Regions from separate parts of the Homo sapiens genome. Here region 1 is linked to region 2. The links are contacts of gene promoters, found by promoter capture Hi-C in blood cells and fetal thymus (Javierre and others, 2016). All regions are on one chromosome and are shown on one strand. The core of a region is centred on a gene start or on the middle of the fragment in contact, and the rest is flanking DNA. Distances in the headings are between cores, read along the strand shown.

The links. The method cuts DNA at HindIII sites, captures the fragments that hold promoters and counts their contacts. A CHiCAGO score of 5 or more calls a contact.
Region 1: a contact is called between a fragment that was not itself captured here and the fragment with the promoter of HRNR in region 2, in 2 of 17 cell types (total CD8 T cells and naive CD4 T cells). The highest score is 6.2, in total CD8 T cells.

The regions. Positions count from the first base shown.
Region 1 is chr1:152,506,904-152,513,907 of GRCh38, forward strand. LCE5A (late cornified envelope 5A) reads left to right here and starts at 3,900. Exons shown (of 2, transcript NM_178438.5): 1 at 3,900-4,095; 2 at 4,611-5,274. The coding sequence starts at 4,632. The coding sequence ends at 4,988. The HindIII fragment of the contact is 208 bases long and covers 5,259-5,466 here.
Region 2 is chr1:152,221,172-152,227,833 of GRCh38, forward strand. HRNR (hornerin) reads right to left here and starts at 3,022. Exons shown (of 3, transcript NM_001009931.3): 1 at 2,972-3,022; 2 at 1,945-2,107; 3 at 1-319. The coding sequence starts at 2,082. The region is part of intron 1 of CCDST (cervical cancer associated DHX9 suppressive transcript); the gene reads left to right. The HindIII fragment of the contact is 14,241 bases long and covers 1-5,868 here.

The sequences.
Region 1 (7,004 bases), core at 4,113-6,612, 290 kb after region 2:
TGTACACTATTCAGACTTTACATCAGGGCAACAGTGAGCAGTGGGAATAAGACAAATAGAAAAATTCCCTTTCCAGTGTTAAACTCCAGAATCAGCCTGCAGTGGGTGAGAGCAACACTGTGCAAAGGCCCTCATGGAGGCAGTTCCCAGGCCACAGTCCAGCACAGAGAAGCAAAGGGAGGTCAGGGACAAATGTTTTCAGGGCTCCCAAATCTGTCCAGGGCTGGCGGTGTTCAGATGACCTAAGGGGCATGTCTAGTTTTGCTCACCATCAAAACCTGAGGTTGTTATGCAACCTCATGCTCACTGAGTGCTGGCAGATTATGATGACTTCTTTCAGGAGTTTTCCTACAGGAAGACAATGTACCTGCCAACATTGACACTCAGGTTTCTCTTTGTAAGTTGATGTCATCACAGTCTCTTGTGAGTTAGGTGCAGTGAATCAGTCTCCACAGGATTAATCAGCTCAGGGACATGGACTAAGGAACTTAGCCATGCTAAGGCTAAGAGTTGGACTTCTGGGCTAGGGAACAGTCATCCAGATAGTGCCATCCTGGGGAGGGTTCTTGGGGGTCTGCCAGCTGGCCTATCCCTGGCAATGCCAGACACTGCCTGTCCAACACAGGTAATCAATCCCTGGTTATTTAGTAGAGGTAATGATCACTTCCAATTTTTTCATATGTGCAATTCAGGCTGTGATTCCCCATATTTATTACTATTTTCACTCCAAATTCAATAGCCATGTTTAACAAGCAAATTATATAAAATAAATCTTGCTGGAAAAAATCACAGTAAGAAATAAAATACTATTCAAGAGGCAGAGTGCTATGATGGAGAGAGGGCAGATAGCAGGTTTTGAATTCCATCTCTGCTCCCAACTCTCCATGTGATCCAGGGAAAGCCTTTTTCCATCTCTAAGTCTCAGGTTCCTTTTCTGTCAAACAAGGGGCATGATCTAAATCAGCAATTATCAATCCCAGTGGTGCAGCAGAGCCACTTGATGGACGTCTGGAGAATGTCAAAGCCTAGATCTCACCGGGGTTGAGAACCACCGGCTCTGAATGATGGCCAAGGTCCTTTCCACAACTATTCTATCATCCCATGAAATGTCTAGAATTTGTTAATGAAAATCTGGGTTTGGATTTGTTTGAGGCATTCATCTTGCTTGCTGAATAGTAAATTCAACTGAACAAGGAAATGAAAACTGAGCACCTGCTGCCTACAAGGCACTAAATTAGACCCCTTAGGGATTCCTGCACTAAAGACCTTACCATGTGGTCAGATAGGTGGGTCGTGTGCCCAAACAATTATAACTAAAAGGGGATGGACATTGTTCCTTTTAGAATTCACCAAACCCATGTTTTAAATGGGTAATTCCTTTAATTTTACTGGGATTCCCTTTCCAGAAATTCAGAGCCTGTGTTCTACCTTCTTGCTTATACTTCTCCACAAGGAGGGCAGAGACAGATCCGACGCCCCAACCCTGTGGTCTTTATCTAGGCCTGCCCTGAGTGCTGGAATTTAGAAGTGACACAGCATCAGTTTTCATTTTAAACATTTATTGAATGCTTACTATATGCCGGGCACTTTTACAAGAGTTTTAGGTATGTTAACTCAATTTAATGGCCCCATGAGATAAACACTACTTTTTTGACCATTTCACAGGCGAGGACAGTGAGGTGGAAAGCTCATATCACTTGTTCAAAGTCACACCACTGGTAAGTGGGGAGTTGGGATTCAAACCCAGAGACTGGATTTAGAACTCACGCTCCCAGCCGGGCACGGTGGCTCACACTTGTAATCCCAGCACTTTGGGAGGCCGAGGTGGGTGGATCACGAGGTCAGGAGATCAAGACCATCCTGGCTAACACAGTGAAACCCCGTCTCTACTAAAAATACAAAAAGTTAGCCGGGCGTGCGTGGTGGCAGGTGCCTGTAGTCCCAGCTACTTGGGAGGCTGAGGCAGAAGAATGGCGTGTATCCAGGTGGCAGAGCTTGCAGTGAGCAGAGATCGATCGCACCACTGCACTCGAGCCTGGGTGACAGAGCAAGACTCAGTCTCAAAAAAAAAAAAAAAGAACTCACGCTCCCAACCACTTATAAATAGATTCTGTGCCCTTCATGAAATGTTCTTATGGCTACCAAAAATAATGCTTCCAAACAACGAATAACATGGGAAATGTTGATGTTAAAATGTTAAGTGAAAAGTTAGTAAAGTAAACTCATGTAAGTACTATGAGAAAGACTATGTAAAATACAAACAAAACTCAAATAACAACAACAACAACAAAACCACTATATATAGAAAAAAATGACGGGAAGGAAAATAGCAAAATAGTAACCATATTTTAGGGATGGGATTATAGGTGATTTTAAAATTCTTCCTATTTTTTGGTGTTTTTAAATAATGAGTATGCTTTCTTTATAATCTCATTCCCTAGTGACAAGCAAATACTCTTAATATTTTGCTGTAAGAAAACATCGAGTCTAAGTTCTGATATCATAAAAATTAGTTTTGGTTTCAAAATTGGCAGGTCAGTAATTTGAAATTTAGCATATATTTTCTCATGGAAATAAGGATAGCCATAGTGATTAGTTTTTTCTTTTTTAAACTTGCAGTTCTAGGAACTGTGCTAAGAACTTCATCTGTATTTCTTTATTCAGTGGATTAGGAATGTTTTCAGCCCCCTTTTCCAGTGATGGTTAAGTAACTTGCCAGAGGTTGCACAGGTGGAGAGAGCAAGGGTGGGAACTGATGCTGGATGTCCCTCTCCAGGGTCTGTGTTATAACTGGGCTGATGCTTCTCACTGCAGCCCATTTCAAAGAGCATGGAGCTAAGGTACTGCCTTTTTCTCCCAGTCTTATTTTCTCTCACTGCAGCTTTCATTGTGAATATGCCATATTTTGGCCACCCTTTCCAGCTAAGTCAATTTTGATAACTATCCTGGGGACCCAACTTTCCCTCAGAATATTGTTTGCTGAGAAAATGTTTTGGATCCCACCATGGGCTTTTAAAACCTATATACTCCTCCTCTTCACCTCTCCATCCAAAGATTAATCTTCTCCTGAGGTCCTTCCCAGGTTGGATGCTCTTCTCTTATGAATGACCAGAACTGGTGCCTCACTTCTGGAAACCTCCAGATGAGTGGAGAGCTTTTGCTCCACCCTCAGTATACACCTGGTCTTTGCTGCCTCACCTCGAGCTGGCCAAGGGCACCTTCTTTAACACGAGTAAATAAGCCATTCCTAGACTTCTGCCCTTTTAAAGGCATTGTTAGTGCTGAATCGGTACTGTTTGTGAGCAGTTTTGGAGCATCAAATTCAGGCAAGGAGAGAAGCCCAACCACCCACACTGTCAGCATTAGATCTGCCTAAAATAACATCACTGAGATATCAAACCTTCCTTGTTCTGGTTATGGCATCATCTAGAAATGAAAAAAAAATCATGTTAGATTATTTGCTTGGGCCTACAATTTTATTTTGGATCTCTATTATTATTCTAAAAAGGGCCATTTAATTTCCATCTTGGGAATTTTCTCCTTCAGTTCCTATACCAAAGAGAAAACAGAACTTCTGTTCATTCCAGAGGTGTAGAGCCGTATTGGCCCAGCTCAGAAAATAGAAGGCATAGCAGAGCTGCCTGTGAGATAGATAGGTGCCATGTGCAATTCACAGAGCTCCCTCACCATCCTAGAGGCCTGCAGTTCTCAGGGGATCTTCCTGTGGGTTAATACTTGAGATGCTTATGCAGGGAGGAACTGGGTCCCTGGGATGCGAGGGGAGGGAGTCACCCATGCCTTTATGAAAGATGCTTCTAGCGTCCCGCACATGGTCTGCACCTCCTGATGCTAGGTCAGGACTGAATTGTATAAAAGGCAGAAGCTTCTGACAGCACCTCAGTCTACCTGTCTCCTGAGTGATCTGCTGCAGTGCCTGAACCAGGTAGAGTGCTTCTCAGGACCAGGATGAACTCTTGGTGCTGGTGTTTTGGGCAGAAAGAGCCCCTGGGTGGAGGTTGAGGCCATTCTTGAAGAAAGACAAGGATAAAGAAGGATTTTGGAGGGGAAGGTTCTTCTGGAAGGGGAGGGTGGAAGGTAGGTAAAAGGAATGAAGGACTGATGCCTTTCTGAAGTTCCAAGTTATTCATTTGAAAATATGGAGTTACTAGGTGGAAATCATTTGTATCATTCTTGTTACTGGTCTTGGGAGACTGGGTTTTTAAAATCTGGTTCATCTTAGGCCAGGAGTAGTGGCTCATGCCTGTAATCCCAGCACTTTGGGAGGCTGAGGTGGGCGGGTCAAGAGGTCAGGAGTTCGAGACTGACCAACATGCTGAAATCCCGTCTCTACTAAAAACACAAAAATTAGCTGGGTGTGGTGGTGCACACCTGTCTGAGGCAGGAGAATCACTTGAATCCGGGAGGTGGAGGTTGCAGTGAGCCGAGATAGCACCACTGCACTCCAGCCTGAGTGACAGAGTGAGACTCCATCCCAAATAATAATAATAATCATAATAATAAATTCTGGTCATCTTAGAGATAAAATCTTGTGAAATTATAGTTCAATTTTAAGGGCAAGGAAGTGACCTTGGGCTTGTATTGTCTTTCAGCTTTATTCAGCTTCTACAGAGATGTCCTGCCAGCAGAGCCAGCAGCAGTGCCAGCCTCCTCCCAAATGTACCCCTAAATGCCCTCCCAAGTGTACTCCTAAGTGTCCTCCCAAGTGTCCCCCAAAATGCCCTCCCCAGTGTTCAGCCCCATGCCCACCTCCAGTCTCTTCCTGCTGTGGTTCCAGCTCTGGGGGCTGCTGCAGCTCTGAGGGTGGTGGCTGCTGCCTGAGCCACCACAGGCCCCGCCAGTCCCTCCGACGCCGACCTCAGAGTTCCAGCTGCTGTGGCAGTGGCAGTGGCCAGCAGTCTGGGGGCTCCAGCTGCTGCCACAGCTCTGGGGGCTCTGGCTGCTGCCACAGCTCTGGAGGCTGCTGCTGACCTGGGCCATGAGGAGCACGGAGGAGAAGGACTGGCAGATCCCAGGTGCTGAAGATGTGTGTCAGCCTGAGGCTTCTTTTCTCTCATTTCCCATGGAAGGACTTCGGAAATGCCTTAAGTTCCCCTCTTTATCCTGCCCATGTTCACTCCATTGTAGGGTTGAAGTCTAGCTTGTGATATTTTCTGGCCTGGCTTTCCCTCTCAGACATAGCTCTTTGGAGAACTAGGTGTTGTAATTCAGTTATGAAGCTATTTTCTCTGTAACAATAAAGCTTTTTATTCCTGATATCACTGCCTCCTGATTTCATTGTTTGCCTCTCCCACTCCCTACCTGCTGCATCAAGCCATCTTCCCTTCCCTTCTCTTAAATGCAAGCGAACACTTTACAAACTTGTTTAGGAAGCACATTTTGGCAGTGAAGCTACTTAGGCCTCTGGAAAACAATATTTCCTTCTATGCACTGGATTCTGGAACTTTAAGCTTGAAGGAAAGAATAATGTCTGAGACCATTACGCCAGACACAAGATTGTATGAGGAGAGCCAGGAATGGGTTTGAAGAGAAGAGGATGGTTGTACTCAAAAGGTTCAGGTTCTGAGAGGGTTTCCTTCAAGCATGGGTCACAGTTTGAAAAATTGCTTGTCCCCATTCATGGGGAATAAGATTGCCTGAAGTGCTCATCCTGGGCTCTAATAAATGGACACTCTTTACTTTTCTGATTATTATAAGCTCAGGTGTTTCCATCAGTTGGCTAGAGGGAGAGCTGGGTGGGCAGTGAGTGAGTTTTGGAGGCAGATATGAAACGTCTGAGCACATTTTCCCTGCATGCTGAAATCCTGGATTTGAATCTGGGTAAAGAACTGAGAAAGACACCCTTCTTTGCAAAGACTGTCTCTATGTGGTTGGGACGTACGTGTGTGTGTGTGTGTGTGTGTGTGTGTGTGTGTGTGCAGTGAGAGGTATAAGAGTACAGGGGTTTTGGTCCCTGTGTTGGGTTTTCCAAGCAACATTTCTTTAGGAATGGGCTGGTTCCTTCAGGAGACACTCATAATGTACCTAGAAAAGATAACTAGAAAAGTTAATTCCAAATCAGCCTTTAATATAAAAGATAAACAATTGATGCCTCCTTTGATAAGAGTTAATAGCGATAAATAAAGTAAGCTGGTTTATGAGATCATAGGATGCCCACAGAATGAGTAGGCACTTGCCCAGATTATCTCCTTATACTGATTCCTACCAAACGTTCTTCATTCTTTTTTTTTTTTTTTAAAAGAACTTTGCCCATTTTCCCAGAGGAGATCCTGCCTCTGTCTTGTTATTTCATTACTTCCTTCTCTGTTCTAATATTGACTTTACTTTTTGGAATGTCTCACCTATACTCACCAACAGGTGCTCTAGGAACTGGCAACCTGTTAATCAGGCTCTAAATCCATGTTAAATGAAACTGGTATCTTTTGTGACTTATCTTTCCTCGCCTAGTCCCTTGAGCCACTCCCAGCTCACTCGCCCCCAAACCTGTCTCTCATCCTTAATTCCTGAATTCTTAGTCTTGGACTTCTGTTATAGTTCACATTCACAGTTGTGGGCAATTTGATTAAGAAGCAGTTCTGAAGTTGACTGCCAAAGTATCCTCCAATTCTTAAAAATTAGTTATTCTGAAAACACTATCTATCATGAACACTTTGGACCTTTGGAAAGAACTTTCTTTCTTTCTTTCTCTTTTTTTTCTTCTTTCCCTCCCTCCCTTCTTCCTTTCCCATTTTCTTTTGCACTGGGCAGTGGCCCTAGGGAGAACTTATCTTCAAAGGCAGATTGGTGGTTGGGGGTGGGATAAGAAGCAGGAGTCCCACAGGCTGACTAGCCTTTTTGCAATTGGGCCACTGTCCTGCACACATTTTTCTCTTTGTCATACCATGCTGTATTATGGGGATATGGCAACCTGACTACATTCACAACTTTTCTGGTCTTATGGTTCCTTAACTTTGCCTAGGTTTTTCTTCCTGTCTCCAGTGACAGAG
Region 2 (6,662 bases), core at 1,772-4,271:
CAGTCCCAGGTTTAAGACTTCCTCTGACGTTTCTGGAATAGGAATCATTCTCTCCTGCACTCCAACTTGAATGACTAAAAGAGGATTCTTGCCGTTTGTTCTCCTCTTTTTCAGTTTCTTCTTGTTCCTCTTGGTGCTGGTGAGTGTCATCTCTCAGCTTTGACCCTGAAACTTGGCAGTAATCTTTGCCAATGATTTTATTACGAGCCTGAACCAGCTTGAATATCATCAGAAGATACTCAGTAAAATCCACTTTCTTGTTATGGTCTCGATCCAGACTTTGCAAGATGATATCCACAGTATCTGGATCGTTTGGATTCTGTATAAGAGAAAGGTACAAAGAGTAGCTCTGTTAGTATGGACAATACATCTGGCTAACGAACTGAAGGAAAGATGTGAAAATGTAAATGTTTGGGTTATTTATATGGAACTCATTCACACAGTCCTTTAGGCTGCATTTCTGTATCCTGAGCAGAAAGAGAAAAAGGAATATGGAATGAATAATGTGGTGGGAAACAGCTAGAATAGGATGCAACTGGAAGATGAAAGGAAACAAGAGGGCTGATTATTTTTGGTAAAGAATGGGTCAAATATGAATGATTAGCTAATTTATAAGTAATATGTTTTTATACCTACATTAATTATATCAACTTTATTTATCCAATTAAATTAACTAGCTACTTAATTTACTCACTGAACAAAGATTTATTATTTTACTAGTTGCCTACCATTATGTCATATGAGAGTATAAAGAAGTGAACAAGTTTGCTTCCTGAAAAAAAATGGAATTTAAAGTTTAGTTGGCCAGATATACAAACTTAAAATTATAATTTATTGTGGTAAGGTTTCTACAAGAGTACATCAGAGAGGAAACATTGGGGGTCCTAGAAAGGTTAATGAGAGGAAATGATGCCTTTTGAAGGATGGATTAGGATTAGCCAAATGAAGAAGTAGGAAGAGAAAGAGAAGGGGAAAAGATTGTTCTAGGCAGAGGGAATTATATGAACAAAGGGCTAGAGGTGAGAGAAGTTATGGAGCATTCAAGGAACTGAAGGAAATTCAGGATTGCTAGATTTAGAGTTTGAAGAGTCAAGAAATGTGGATAGAGAGACAAATAGGGACTAGATTATGACTTTTAAGTTATGTTAAGGAACTTTGTACTTCATTTTAAGAGCAATTGGGAACTATTGAAGGATTTTTAGCTGAGGAGTGAAATGATTATATTTGCATCCAATGCTGAGAGTAGAAGTAGTAGGTGGCCTGAACCAGAGGACTAATAATAGTGATGAAGAGAAATGGGTTGTTTTGAGAGATTATTGATGAGTTAGATGGAGGTTAGAAGGTAGTGGTGTCTGCTGAGAGAGAGACAATAAAAAATGACACCAGGTTTTTGCTTTGGGCAAAAAGATGAAGGAAAAAGGTTAGTGGGGAAGATTATGAGATTCATAGCTGACACACTGAATATCTGACATCTGATATCTGAATATCATATCTGAAATCCACAGAAATCCAAATTTAAGGAATTGAAACTCAGGAGTCTGATATAAGGTCCCAAATATCTAAGCTATCAAATCTAGACCTGACAGTTTTAAGGTGGTGGACACATTCTTTTGTGATTCAGGAGTAAATGCCAATTTCCTGAACTCAGAAATCTACTTCACAGTTTTTCTGAGGACTGTCTGGGTTTGTAGGAATTAGTCACTTAGATAGGACATTATTTAACCTGTGGGTTTTGTTTGTTGTTTAGTAAGGTCACTTCCGTTAGTTATGCTATGGAAACCATCACGGATCTGCTTTTGACCTTATCTCAAACTTTTACCAAACCCTGTTCTCTCTCACCAAGTAAGGACAATCCTCTAGGATGTTTGACATATGTGACAAGAAGGTGGAAAGGGATAAAGAAGAAAATTCCTGCATAACTCCATCCTGGCGTGGAGTTCTTACCTTCAGAATTTGATGAAACTCATTTTCCAGAAGTTCTTTCAGCTCTGCCTTGTTCAACGTATCATACTCCCCATGCTGGGTGGCATATTGGTAGAAAACATCGATGACAGTGATGACGCCTTGTAGGAGTTTAGGCATTTTTTTTTTTGCAAGTTTGAGTAACCTAAAGGGAGGAAAAAGAGAGACCAACCCCTTACTATTCTTATTTCTTGTTTAAACACATAAATAGTTCTAATTATTTATAATAATTGTTCAGAATTAGTCAGTCATGATTAAATTCATTCTGTTGTAATCAAGAACCAATTCAGAGTTGAATGACTTGTTCAAGCCATGTAGCAAGAGAGTGATGAAATTAGGAATATAATCCATAGGTCTTATTTCCATTCCTGAATGAATGTAGGAAAAATGACTTTCTGTTTTTGGCTTCCTGCCATTACCAGGGATAATATTAGCTTTGTTCTGGAGCTGTAGAAGTCCTGAGTGTTCCACTTCATCTGCTTCCTCTTTCTAGGTTCGAAGCATACTGTGGGCATAGGTCCATCATCTACATGACATGCCTTACTCAACCTAAGGAGCATCAATGGCTGAACTGAACTCTCAAGACTTCTAGGTCAGAGAAAATAGACAATGTGAGCAAAGCCAACAAGCCTAGGTGATATGAAGCTAAGGGTAACTGCTATTAGATCCAGCTTCTGTTCTCATTCTCCAAGCAGGAAGTGACCCTCAGACCTTATTACACAATAGAGAGGAAAAGCTCAGTTGTAAAGAAGGCAACCTGCCTGTGGATAATTAGAACCCCATGATATCCATGTTATAAGGGAAGCGACCTCAAAGAAAGGAGATAATATACATAGTCCTAGTCTTTGTTTCATTTTTCTTTTCAGTAAATTTAAACTTATACCAAAGTTCCCCAGAGTATACTAAAAAGAAGCCTTGTATCTAGTGCCTCTTTGCCTTAGAGCACATCCTGGACTTTCATAATTTATAGCCCTAAGTACCCTTGAGCGGAGTTGAACTGCTCACTTACCTAGCTCACCAGAGGAACAAGTAGGGTAGAGACAGAAACAGCTTTCAGGGTGCTGCGAGTTGGGCAGAGTGGCCTTTTTATAGAGGGAATAATGGTCCCTCTTAGGGAGGAGTTGCTAATTTTGAGATGTCCTAATTTACTCCTAAACAAGCCCATCTCCACCTCTATCTCCACCTCCCAGGTGTTTACCTTCTTCCTGACTTCCTTACAGGTTCACCTAAGATTGCATTAGCAGTTCCCAAATCTGGGCTACTCTCAGCCCCACCTGCCAAAGGGTCAGGACACTGCAGAAAGGCCTGTTTTTGTATTCATCAAACTATCTAGCACAATATATTGACAACAAATTGTGTGGATTTTAATAGAAGTTGAATGGAGTGTGTGCAGGGACATCATGGCCCAAATGTCAAAAAATCATGGAAATTGATGATTAAAAGGACTGTAAAGATCATCTAGTCAAACTCTCCCATTCTAAGCTAAATGTTCTTAAATGGTATTCCAGCCAAAGTGTCATCTTTGGTATTGTTATTACCTTTTGAATTGGATAATGGCTCCAGGCCATCCTTTAACTCATTAAGTACCTCAATTTACCAGACCCCTTATTGGCCATTCATCACCATAGCTTTCATTTCAAACACCATATAACCTTAGGAAGAAATGCGTGCTTGTTAGCATGGTATCCATGGTTCCTCATGATCTGGGCTGTGGCTTTTTTCCAGCTCCATTTCTCCCCTCCATATTTCTCTTTGTACTCCAACAGTAATTAACTAGTAATATTTCAAACTTCCTCAATATACCATGGGATATGTTATTTCATATTTTTTCTTAGAATGTCTTTCCTCATTGTCTGCCTAGTGAACTAATTATTCTTCAAAATCCAATTTAGGCTTCCCATAGAAAATCTTTCCTGAATTACTCAAGAGGGAGTTGTAATTGTGTACCTTATTCATATTTATTGTTGTATCAATCATACTATATTGTAATCTTTAAAAATTGTTTTACTATACAATTATTGTTTAATATAAAAATTAGAAAATATTGATAAGCAAATAAGATAAAATCAAAATACCTTTAAAGCCACTAGCCAAAAATAACTACTGTTAGTTATTTGTTGTATATCCTTGCCTTTCACAAACACACACATTCACACACAGACACACACATTTGTCTATGGGCTTATTTCATTTCTAGGCTATGAGCTCCTTGAGAATAAGGAATGGACATTATTTATCCTTATGTCATTTGGAGACCTAGTATACTGCTTGTCACATAACGGTCTCCAATAAATGTCAGTTTGAATTCATTTGAAAGAGAAGCAAGGATCAAGACTATAGTCCTCTGCATTGGCCAACTTCCATCTTTTCACAGGAGGACTAGGGTCTGCCCTCTCTCTTGCCATCTTTGCCTCAGAGGACATGATTTTACCTGAATATAAACGGAATCTTAGCATTGAGAATCAATGAGTGGCTTTCTGCTTTTTTCTGAGGCCCTCGCTCTGCATTTCTTCCATTGTGAACATATAACACAAATTTCACTGAAGGTGTGTGAAGTTACATGGACTTAAAACTTGTGCAATATGGTCATCAGGATTTGAGAAGGTGTGGTAGCAACTGTTGGCAAGTGATAAATTACATGATTCCAAATTCAACTATTGTTAGGCTATGTGTTTTCTTTTAAGAATTGCCCAGAGGGCTGCAGAGTCAGTATCCATTCTGTAGCCGTGTTTCCTCTGGACATCTGATTGGGCCAGGTTTTCATGCTTCATCAGAACAATGACTTTTTAAAGGTGTGGCTGAGACTGTGGGAGTAAAGGGGGGTGGAATTTGCTGAGTGAAGACTGATTTCCTGCAGGAACCAGCTGTTGTCACGAAGGGAGGAGAGGGTTGTGAGAGAAGACTATTCCAGGTGAACGTGCTCTTGGGGCTAGTGTTCTCCTGAAATAGGGGCCAGCAAACTTTTTTTTTTGTAAAGGGCCAGATGGTACAAAATATTATCTCTGCAGGACAGATAGTTTTTGTTGCAACTACTCAACTCTGCTATTGTAGCATAAAAGCAGCCATAGATGATATGTAAACAAATGAGCATGGCTATGTTTCAGTAAAACTTATTTATCAATACTGATCTTTGAATGTCATATAATTTCACATATCATATATTTTTTCAACCGCTTACAAATGTAGAAAACCTTTTTATCCTGTAGGCTACACAAAAATGGATGACAAGCTAGCTATGAACTGCAGGCTGTAGTTTACCACTCTTTGCTCCTCTTCTGTATTTGCTTTTCAGGAAGATTCTCTGGGAGAGGAGGATCTGAGAGAAAAGAAGGGCTGAAAAGTGTGGGACATCAGAACCACTAACTCTTGCATGAGAGAACAAGAGTGAAGGTGAATTTGTAAATATCAGCATGTGTGGGGTGGTGGGGAAAGGGAACAGAACAAGGGACCTTTGGCTGCTCGTAAAAGGGAGATAAATTTTGATTTGATGTAAGGGAGAAATATTTAATATTTGCATTGACTGAAAATGCAGTGAGCTCTTTGTGAAGTAACTGAATTTATTGTCAAGTATCATATGAATAGTTTTTTACTATTAAAGAAAAAATTAATTCTTTCATTACGTTGTTTTCTGGATATGCTCACCAACTAGAATTTTGTTGGGCTTTTTTTCCTCGTTTGTATCATGAAAATAAGAAGCATATTACATATGCGTCTTGGTCTCTTCTCTCCCCATTGAGAATTACTTATTAAGAGTAGGACTAGATTATCACAAAAGTCACTTTCAAAACAGTTTCTTGTTTTTTTTAGAGTGTGTGCTCCATAGTAACAGAGTTGGACATGAAGATTCCTCCATCATGGGTTTGGTTAGTGGTTTTTCCACTTGGAGATGATAGGTTTCAGGAGAAAAGCTTTTCTATGGTATGTGCCATGTTCTAGGTTTTTGAGTGCCTTTCTCTGTGTGTTGGCAGAAGAATGAAAATTACATTCCTTTTTATGACAAGCACAGTGCTTTGTGTGTGGGTGTACATTGTTTCATTAATTCTTACAACAACCCTGTTATCTAGATATTATATTTCCATTTTGCAGATGAGAAAACTGAGGCTCAGATGAAATCTGTAACTTGTTTCAAGTCACTTAGCTGTTAAGTGGAGAAGACAGAATTCAAATTCAAATCTGCTTTTTCCTAGGAATAGTCAGCAAGTAGGGAAATATTCATGTCTTGGTAAAGGAAGGGTTTTGGAAACAGTTCTTCAGGAATGGAGTGTTTCACCTAGGAAAAACAAACAAACAAAACTAGCAAGGATAAACAGTGAAGTTCCAGTACCATCTGTGTGCACTCATTTTTTTCTGCCTGTCTGGAAGGCAGAGTAATGTGCCTATTGCACCATCTGCTGGGTCATAGGGAAATTCTAAAGCAGATCTTTTCTTCATTGCCTTTTCTGCCCTTTTTCCTTACAGAAATTATTTCATGGAATTTCTATAGTTCTTTGTAGCCTAGTCTCTATAAATGAGGAGACTATGTAAAAAATAGGGGTATGTATATAAGAGAAGGTTGATGGTCATGATTTTGGGTAAATGGAATCAAAAGAAGTTAGCTATAATATGAAACTGGTTAAATAGTGCTTCCTTCTATATCCTCTTTTGAGTCCTTTTTACTGTTATCTCAAAAAATAAAAAATGGATTCGATATAATTTTACAG